2 separate regions of the Homo sapiens genome follow, and region 2 is linked to region 1. The links are contacts of gene promoters, found by promoter capture Hi-C in human tissues and cell types (Jung and others, 2019). All regions are on one chromosome and are shown on one strand. The core of a region is centred on a gene start or on the middle of the fragment in contact, and the rest is flanking DNA. Distances in the headings are between cores, read along the strand shown. Region 1 holds the start of CHSY1 (chondroitin sulfate synthase 1). Region 2 overlaps LINC02348 (long intergenic non-protein coding RNA 2348).

Region 1 (4,737 bases), core at 903-3,402:
GGAATTGGTCCCTGCCCCTGGCAGACTTCTACAGGACCTCAGTTTCTCTCTTCTCCTTCCAACCCTCTCTTGGCCTGGCATATCCCTCTTCTCCCAGAGGGAGTTCCCGTATGTCTTACTCTCCTTCTCCAGGGAATTGTAAGCCCTCAGGCTCAGCCTTTACAAAGAAAAGGGTATCCTTTCTACATTACGAAAGACCCCCATTAAGCCTGCAGGTGAGACAGGTGAGACTGTTAACCTAGGAACTGAGGGACAACTAGGAACCAGGATATTGAGGAGGACAAAATATTTGGCATCCTCAGAATATTATTCCCATCAGATATTTATATACTTTTTTTTTTTTTTTCCTTGAGACGGAGTTTCGCTGTTGTCGCCCAGGCTGCAGTGCAATGCAATGGCACGATCTCGGCTCACAGCAACCTCCACCTCCCGGGTTCAAGCGATTCTCCTGCCTCAGCCTCCCGAGTAGCTGGGATTACAGGCATGCACCACCACCCCCGGCTAATTTTGTATTTTTAGTAGAGTCGGGGTTTCTCCATGTTGGTCAGGTTGGTCTCGAACTCCTGACCTCAGGCGATCCGCCCGCCTCAGCCTCCCAGAGTGCTGGGTTTACAGGCGTGAGCCACCGCGCCCGGCCAGCTTTTCACTGGACACTAGTTTCGAAGAAAACTAGGTAAGTCTAAAGCAGGTTAGAAAATACTGAAATCGTTGAATATGCTACAAAATTGAACATCTGAATCTGGCCAGATTCGTACTTCATGTAAATCACTGTGAATGATGGGGCTGCTGAATTTGGGGGATCTGGTGACTCCTCGGCATTTGTGGTTTATGGTCTTAGTGGAAACCTTTTTCGATGGTTTTCGAGCCTGTAATTCATGGTTGTATGTTCTGTATTTTTCCCAAGACCACTGCTGGAATCCTGTATTCACTGCATAATGAGTATTTTATTTTTAGATGTGGATCACCCCTTAGGGAGGGGCTCTGTGGGAAGGTAGGTAATGAACTATTTTTAATATAAATCACAAGTGTCAAAGAAAGTGGTAATATCCAAAGAATAAACAAGAGTGACCACCATTCAGGTGCCGAGAAGGTATCTGAAGCTCCCACAGGCATTTTAAACTGTGTGATAGTATTTCAACCATTTGGTCAACAATGAAGAAAGATCCAAGGATTGCCCCAGGCATGTGTTTATTTGATTCAATGCAGGTAACTTCTCAGGCCCAGGGAAACACTTTGCCCTTCAAAAGTTTCATTAGAAAACCCCAATATACTGGTGACTAAGTAACAAGACTGAAACTCTACACAAACTTTCGTTGTATGGAGACCTCCGCTTTTGCTGCCTTAGCTGAAGTATTGCAGAGGAAATGTATAAAACTTAAAATCCAGAGTAGAGGATCTGGGACCCAAAATCCGTCTTTAGAAATCCACGGCACTTTTACAGACGGACTATATTAAAGTAGGGACAAAGTCCCAGGCTGGGGGTACTAGCCGGCTATCTGCCCACACAGTATGTAAATGAAAGTAGGGTTTACCATCCAGGGCATTAACTTCATTTTCCTTGTCTTCGAGATCCATTAAATGCTAGTACTGTATGAGAAGCGTGGACCTTAAGTATTAAAGATGGCTTTTTCTTCTTCTTCTTCTTATTTAGCGTAGAAACTAGCAACAGGGAACAAGGTAACTGAATTCACGGTCCACTCGCAGGCGCGCACGTCCCCAGGGCTCCGGGACGGCTGTTCCCTGCGTGCGGCCGCGGGACTGCGGACAAAGCTGCAGTGTGGTCGGGAGCGCGGGGCCGGGAGCGCGGGGCCGGCCCGGCGGCAGGAAGGGCGTGGCCGTGGGGTGCAGCGAGGACGGCCCGTGCGGGAGGAACGTGCGCAGCGTGGAGTCTGGGGGCCGAGAAGCCCCCACTGCAAGGCTGGCTCCCGAGATTCGCGCCCGGGCGCCGCGGTGCGGGAAGCGGCCGTCCTCGCGGGGACGCCCTTGCGCCGGGTGCTAGGTGCGGATCACGGGCAGCTCCGGCCCCGCGGGCGCCGGGCGGGGGCCCACGCCCCCTCCGCCCGCCAGCTCCAGTCGCAGACCGCGCGGGCGGGGCGCCCGAGAGGGCTTTTTTTTTTTTTGGTCAAACTTCGGCCACGTGAACCGCCCCTCATTCACTTTTGCGCCAATCGCGCGGCGCGGACGGATCCCGAGAGGGGCCACGGCTCGCCGCCGGCGGGGCCACTTCATAACGCGCCGTGCGTGACGTGAGGGGCTCCTGTTGCAATGGCGAGCTAAGCCGGAGGATGTGCAGCTGCGGCGGCGGCGCCGGCTACGAAGAGGACGGGGACAGGCGCCGTGCGAACCGAGCCCAGCCAGCCGGAGGACGCGGGCAGGGCGGGACGGGAGCCCGGACTCGTCTGCCGCCGCCGTCGTCGCCGTCGTGCCGGCCCCGCGTCCCCGCGCGCGAGCGGGAGGAGCCGCCGCCACCTCGCGCCCGAGCCGCCGCTAGCGCGCGCCGGGCATGGTCCCCTCTTAAAGGCGCAGGCCGCGGCGGCGGGGGCGGGCGTGCGGAACAAAGCGCCGGCGCGGGGCCTGCGGGCGGCTCGGGGGCCGCGATGGGCGCGGCGGGCCCGCGGCGGCGGCGGCGCTGCCCGGGCCGGGCCTCGCGGCGCTAGGGCGGGCTGGCCTCCGCGGGCGGGGGCAGCGGGCTGAGGGCGCGCGGAGCCTGCGGCGGCGGCCCGGCGGGCGGAGCGGCGCGGGCATGGCCGCGCGCGGCCGGCGCGCCTGGCTCAGCGTGCTGCTCGGGCTCGTCCTGGGCTTCGTGCTGGCCTCGCGGCTCGTCCTGCCCCGGGCTTCCGAGCTGAAGCGAGCGGGCCCACGGCGCCGCGCCAGCCCCGAGGGCTGCCGGTCCGGGCAGGCGGCGGCTTCCCAGGCCGGCGGGGCGCGCGGCGATGCGCGCGGGGCGCAGCTCTGGCCGCCCGGCTCGGACCCAGATGGCGGCCCGCGCGACAGGAACTTTCTCTTCGTGGGAGTCATGACCGCCCAGAAATACCTGCAGACTCGGGCCGTGGCCGCCTACAGGTGAGCCCCTGCTCCCCGGGCACCGCCTCCTGCGTCCGGCATCCCGGCGGCCGGCATCCCGGGTGCTCTCCTGGCTCTCGCCTCCGCCCGCTTCCTAGGCCCTTCTTGGGCTTCCGGCGGGATCGGGTTGCCTCTCGGGAGACGCCGGGCCGAGGGAGAAAAGATCAGAGGCGGGATGGTGAGCGCGGCGCTCAGGAACATGGCCTTTGGGGTCAGATGGACTAGTGTGGCCTCGCTGGGTGTACCTCTCACCCTGATGAAGGCACTTTAGCCTTTGCAAATCGAAGCTTCTCGTTAGAAGGGCCCGACAGATCGGGTCTCCCTCATAATGTTGGAAAACTCATAGCACAGTACCTGATAGTGGAGGCAGTTGGGGCTGATACTGGATTCCCTAAAATGTGCACCTTTGTCCTTGCAAAGCTGGAGCCCGTGTACGTTAATCTAGTTCTAGAACCTTTCCACATCATACTCTCACATTTCGCAGTTGGAGGCACTCCTATAAATGAAAGAGAATGCCCGCAGCATATTGGACCACACCAGTCTGTTGAGTACAGAGAGAGAGAACCTTGGGGAAAAGCAGTTCTTGGCCCTTGGTAGATTCAGTGGAAAACTGCATTCTGGTGTTAATTAGTTCAGCTTGGTGGTGTATGCATGTTATCCAGTAACTGGGCTCTAGTTGGCCAAATGAGTCATAAAAGCAGCTGGAATTGTGTTCAGGTTTAACAAAGGGATTAGCCAATGTAGTCTCTAGAAGGGAGATGATTTTGGAATGGCTGGCATGGTTAGAATCAGATTTGTATTGGAGTGAATTTGAAGTTGGAGAGGGTTGTAGACTCGATAAAGGGATTTGATGGAAACCCTATATGTGTGAAGTATAGAGACACTTACTGTATGGATAAAGTTTGGGTCTTATCCAGCCACAGAGCAAACCAATGTGGGGAATGGTTTTAGAGCATCAGTTGTCTGGTAATGAAATTTCAGAGCAGCCAGTGCTGAGCCAGGCTAAGCTGGTTGCTGTTTGTTCTTATAACCAATACCTTTACACTTCAGTTTTTAAATGCAGTCTTGGTCAGATTTTTCAGGCACTAGATGTTGTGAGGGGAAAAGCATATATGGTCTCCCTTGCCTTTAAGGGAGAAAGTAAAGGACTGAGAAAGAAGGTGAAAGTGGTCTTCAGTGACTGCCCCTTGAATGGCTTGATCCCCATTCCTGCACATTTCCATTAGGGTCCTGCTTAAGTCCAGAACCCACATTCCGCCAGGAAGGGTCCTGAGTGGCTTGAAAAGCTTAGAATGCAGGTATTGTAAATACAGACTAATGCAGGCGGGGCGCCGTGGCTCACGCCTGTAATTCTAGCACTTTGGGAGGCCGAGGCGGGCGGATCGCCTGAGGTCAGGAGTTCGACACCAGCCTGACCAATATGGTGAAACCCCGTCTCTACTCAAGAGTACAAAAATTAGCCGGGTGTGGTGGCGTGCACCTGTAGTCCCAGCCACTCAGGAGGCTGAGGCAGGAGAATCGCTTGAACCCAGGAGGCGGAGGTTGCAATGAGCCAAGATCATGCCACTGCACTCCAGCCTGGGCTACAGAGTGAGACTCCATCTCAAAAAAAAAAAAAAAAAAAAATTCTATCTATCGATCGATAGATAGAGATACATAGACTAGTGCAGTGAT
Region 2 (4,737 bases), core at 1,018-3,517, 360 kb before region 1:
GGCACCAGCACACGCTCTTCCATGGAGATCCCATGGAGAGGGATGCCTGCGTGGAGGCCACAGCACTTCTACCAGACCCTGCCACCAGCAGCCAGGCTTGGGAAATGGGGTGGGGGTGGCGGCAGCCTGGCCTGGTCACCGACATTAGCAGTCACCTGCCCAAGGCCATGTGGGGAGGGAGCAGCAAGGAGAGGCCGAAAAGCAAGCTGCGGCCTCAACCGGCCCTGGGTGCCCTCCCAGCCAATATCCAGAGGTGCCCAGCCGGAGGGCCTCACTCACCAGGGCCAGGGCCTCAGCCAAGCCCCAGGTCCCCTCCCCAGCACCCACGGAGGTCATCTTCAGAATTTCAAACGTTTGTCAATGAAGTGCTCCCAATGGAGGCCTCACCAAGCCTCAGTTTGGAAGATCTGAGCAGGTGCTGCTTCCAATTGTGCTTGGCTGTCTGGAGAGTCTCTTCTAAGAAAGTCCCTGCCCCGGGGAGCAGGGGTCAGGTGGTAATATAGCAGTCACGCAGAGAGGAGGCTGGGGCATTGGAGGACAGAGGAGGAACCAGCTCCGGGCTAGGAGAGGGGGAGCTGCGTTGGGTTCGCAGCCTTTGCAGGCCCCACCCAGGGCCCTAGTGTTGCTTTAGGAGCTGGGCAGCCACAGCTGGTGGGATGAGAGTTAAGTCCTGCAAACAGCAGCCTGGCTGCACTCACTGGAGAGCGAGAGTGGGTATGACCCAGGGTGGTGGTGATGCCGACAAGTGGCTGCACCCAAGGACTGTTTAGGAGTGAAAACCAAGCAGACGGTGGGAGATGGGCATGTGGGGAGCAGGGGTGTCCGGGAGCACCCAGGCTTCTGGATGCACAGTGGGAGGAGGATGGTAGAGGGGACTTGTGGGCCCGGGACCCGTATCGAGCAGTGCTGAGTCTCTGGGTCTAGAGCCCAGGAGCTGTTGGGCTGGACATACAAACTGAGAGTCCTCAGCACCTCAAGGACACTAAAGTGACAGCAAGATGAGAAGAGAGCAGGCCCACAGTGGCCTGCCCTGCCACCAGGGGCGTGAAAACCTGAGACATTCATCCTGTTGGCCTGGCGCCTGCAGCTGGCCCCCTGCCTTGCGTGTCACGGAGGCACTCTGCCTTGAGGGTAGAATGTTCTGGGAAGGCACTGTCTGGTGTTTGGTTAAATGACAGGTCAGGCTGAGCCTTGTGCATTTATGGGAGTTGATACATGTGTGTATAAATACATATGTACATATACACACATTTATACCATGTGCACACACACATACACACATGTGTATGCATAATATACAGTCATTTGCACATATATACACATACACCTATCTACAGTACGGGTGTATGTATACATATCAATATTTATTTGTAATTTCTGTCCTCTCTCCCTCCTGAATAACCTAGCAAGTTAGACCTTAGCTTTATGCTTTATTCTTCTCTCATCTACCTTTTTTTTTTTTTTTGAGATGGAGTCTTGCTCTTTGGCCAGGCTGGAGTGCAGTAGTGCAATCTCTGCTCACTGCAACCTCCGCCTCCCGGGTTCAAGCAATTCCCCTGCCTCAGCCTCCCGAGTACAGGTGCTCACCACCATGCCCGGCTAATCTTTTGTATTTTAGTAGAGACAGGGTTTCACCATGTTGGCCAGGATGGTCTCGATCTCCTGACTTTGTGATCCACCCACCTCGGCCTCCCAAAGCGCTGGGATTACAGGCGTGAGCCACCACGCCCAGCTCTTTCATCTACCTTTCACTAGTGAGACCATGAAAGGGGACATGTGGAAGCCAAGCCGCTGCTAACAGGCCCATGAATTCCCGACTTAGCGACACTTTGTTTAAGCACAGGGAGATGCAGCTAGGCGTGGCCAGGGCAGACTGCAGACGGGGCTCCTCGGACACTGAGCCACGGCTTTCTTGAACTAGGTCAGACATCAGACGCTGTTTTAAGGAAGAAAGGATGACCCGAAGGAGGGCCTTTGGTTGAGGCCTGGAGGAACAGTGGGGAGGAGGGGCAGGTGATAAAATGAGCAAGTGGGGGCAGGGCGGGGGCAGCCTTGGGTAGGGCACTGGTGAAGGGCAGTCAGAGAAAAGAGAGTCTCTTCTAAGAAAGTCCACTCTGAGCCCTGCTTTTGAGTAGGATCTCTCTAAGAGTGCAGCGTGGAGCTTGCAAAGGCTTCACTAGTTAGACCTGGGACGTTGGCCCGAGCATGACAGCAGGAATGGAGAGGGGTGTGCAGAGGGTGACGCAGGAAGGGGAGGACTGCGCCTGGGAGGAGGGGACCGTCACTGGCCCCACAGTCTACAGGCTGCCTCCCAGGCCAGGGCGGTCCACTCACCTCAGGTCTTTCCGACCCTGTCCTTGGGTACTGTGAGGCTCTCTGCATCACCCCCATACTCACATGTCCTGCACTTGCTGTTTCTGGGGTCTTCCCTTAGCATCTTGCTTGTGGGAGAGGTTGGTCCTGTCTGCACACTGAACCTTGAAGACATCCGTCATGCTGACCCCCGACCCCAAGGTGTCCCCTCTGTTGAGAGGTGCTCCAAAGCGGAGTGTAGCCCTCTTCCCTCATTAGCACAGGCTCTGGGCAGGCAGCCTCTGGGACCTCGGCCCCACCAGCCCAGCCCCCTTGGCAGAGAGCTCTTGGGGCTCCCTGCCAGCCGCGCAGCGCCCAGCGTTGCCCTAGTAGCAGGGACGGCTTGGGAAGGGTTTTATCTCTGGGAAGGGACTGTCTCCTCTGGGTTTTATTATAAAGGCTAGTTGGTCCCTGGGAAAGTGGAAAAGGAAGATCAGATGACCTGCCTGCATTTTGTTTTCTCTTGGCGAAGGCTGAGCTATCTGATGGCAGGTCCTGAGATCAGCGTCTGGGGCCAGTTCCCAGGGATAGGCTATCCCAGCAGGACCGCAGCACCTGCTGATGCCCCTGCAGCTGCCAGATCCTGGGAGGTGGCATCACTGTGCCTGCCATTAAGGTGGACGTGAGGCAGGACTTCATCCTGGAGCTGGAAGAAGCCTCAGGGTCATCAGTCCTCAGAGTGGCATCAGGCCCACCCTCACCGCACAGGTGGGGCCTCAGGCCTGGGAGCGTGACCGACTGGCCCCCAGTCTTTCCACCAGCCAGGAGTAAGGTCGGGACTAGACTCCTGACTCGCTGACCACCATACCTACAGCCATTCCCTCACTCTCCTTCAATGACCTCAAGTGGGGGCAAAAGAGCGGCTGCCATGACCTCAAGGACTCTCAGATGCATGGCAAACGGCAGGTCTGACCGTGCCGGAAAGGGTCCAGGGGAAGGCTGCTGCCTCCATCCTCGGGCCAGGACATGAAGGGGCATCAACGTCAGGGCAGAAAACAGGAGCAATGGGAGGTCCTGAGTGAATCCTGCAACAGAGAAACTCTTGCCTGCACCCTCTCCTCTGTCCCCCCTCCACCGCCCCATCTCAATGCCACAGGCTGAACCGGAGACCTGTCTTGATGCCAGAGGGGGCCAGCAATTGCCCAAAGAATGCGGAGCTCCCCCTGGTTTGTTGCTGGGGGCCCTTAATCCCAGTGCTGTGCTGGAGCTGGCTTGTAACATTCAATAGAACCAAGCGTTAAATGTGCTCAGATTTTGTGAGCCAGTTGTAAATATAGGCATTATTCACAATTAATCATATGAACTTATAATCAAATATGTTAACAAACACCCCTTCCCAATGAGTTTTACTACTTTTGCTATTTTCTATGCTTTGAGGGTTACTTGCATCTATTATATCAATGCCGTGGGAAGAGTATATAGTGACAGCTACTGGGCATCTCTTCCCAAGCCCACAATCTGTGACGTCACATTGAAAGCTTGGGATTGGCCATGATAGGAGTATTTACACCATGGAAGTTGGCAAACACTGCAAATCAGAGCTTGTGTTATTGTTTTGTTGATTTTCTAGGCTTAAGAAAGTAATAAAAAATTGTTAATAGTACAGATTCAACTTATAAGTGGGTCATGTCTGGGGCCATTTGTAGCAGTCTGGCTCTAATCGGGAGACAGAAATCACACAGCAGGTTAAACAGGGGAAATTTAAGTTAAAATTATTAACAGTTGTAAAACAGTAAGATAGGCCGGGCGCGGTGGCTTATGCCTGTAATCCTAGCACTTTGGGAGGCCGAGGTGGGCGAATCATGAGGTCAGGAGTTCGAGACCAGGCTGACCAACACAGTGAAACCCCATCTGTACTAAAAATACAAAAATTAGCCAGGCCTGGTGGCAGGTGCCTGTAATCCCAGCTACTCGGGAGGGTGAGGCAGGAGAATCGCTTGAACCCAGGAGGCAGAGGTTGCAGTGAGCCGAGATCATACCCCTGCACTCCAGCCTGGGCAACAGAGCAAGACTCTGTCTCAAAAAAAAAGAGTAAGATAAAAAGAAGCTCTATGCAGTATCCTAGGGCTGAGGGAGCTCCCAAAGTAAAAATGAAGTTGTTTGGGGTTCAGACATAGCTGGAGAGGGTGTGGTTCAGCCACTGGATAGCAATGAAGTTTAGCCCAGAGCACACAGCTACAGCTGGTTTGGAGTTGGTGGACACACAATAGGCACCCTCTGGAGGGCAGGCAGGGAACAGGTGATTAGTAACCAAAGGCGTGAACTGCAGTGGGAAACTGAGTGCCCCCAGGGCAGAAGGCCTTCTGGGTGCTGAGGTTGCTTGGCGGGTGGAGAGGTTGCAGAGGAAGTGGCAGGCTGCGTAGTGAGGTCGGAGGCCAGCTGCTG

The links. Contacts are between HindIII fragments. The study calls those that stand out against the background at their distance.
Region 2: a fragment that was not itself captured here is called in contact with the fragment with the promoter of CHSY1 in region 1 in 1 of the 25 tissues and cell types used here (neural progenitor cells).

What each region holds. Positions count from the first base shown.
Region 1 is chr15:101,249,463-101,254,199 of GRCh38, reverse strand. It overlaps CHSY1 (chondroitin sulfate synthase 1), which reads left to right and starts at 2,152. Exons shown (of 3, transcript NM_014918.5): 1 at 2,152-3,063. The coding sequence starts at 2,744. RefSeq lists silencers at 1,688-2,067, 2,238-2,547, 2,738-3,167. The HindIII fragment of the contact is 14,328 bases long and covers 1-3,850 here.
Region 2 is chr15:101,608,318-101,613,054 of GRCh38, reverse strand. The region is part of intron 2 of LINC02348 (long intergenic non-protein coding RNA 2348); the gene reads left to right. Among named protein-coding and RNA genes, the nearest start is that of LINC02348, 3.7 kb to the left of the region's middle. RefSeq lists an enhancer at 225-725. The HindIII fragment of the contact is 4,177 bases long and covers 179-4,355 here.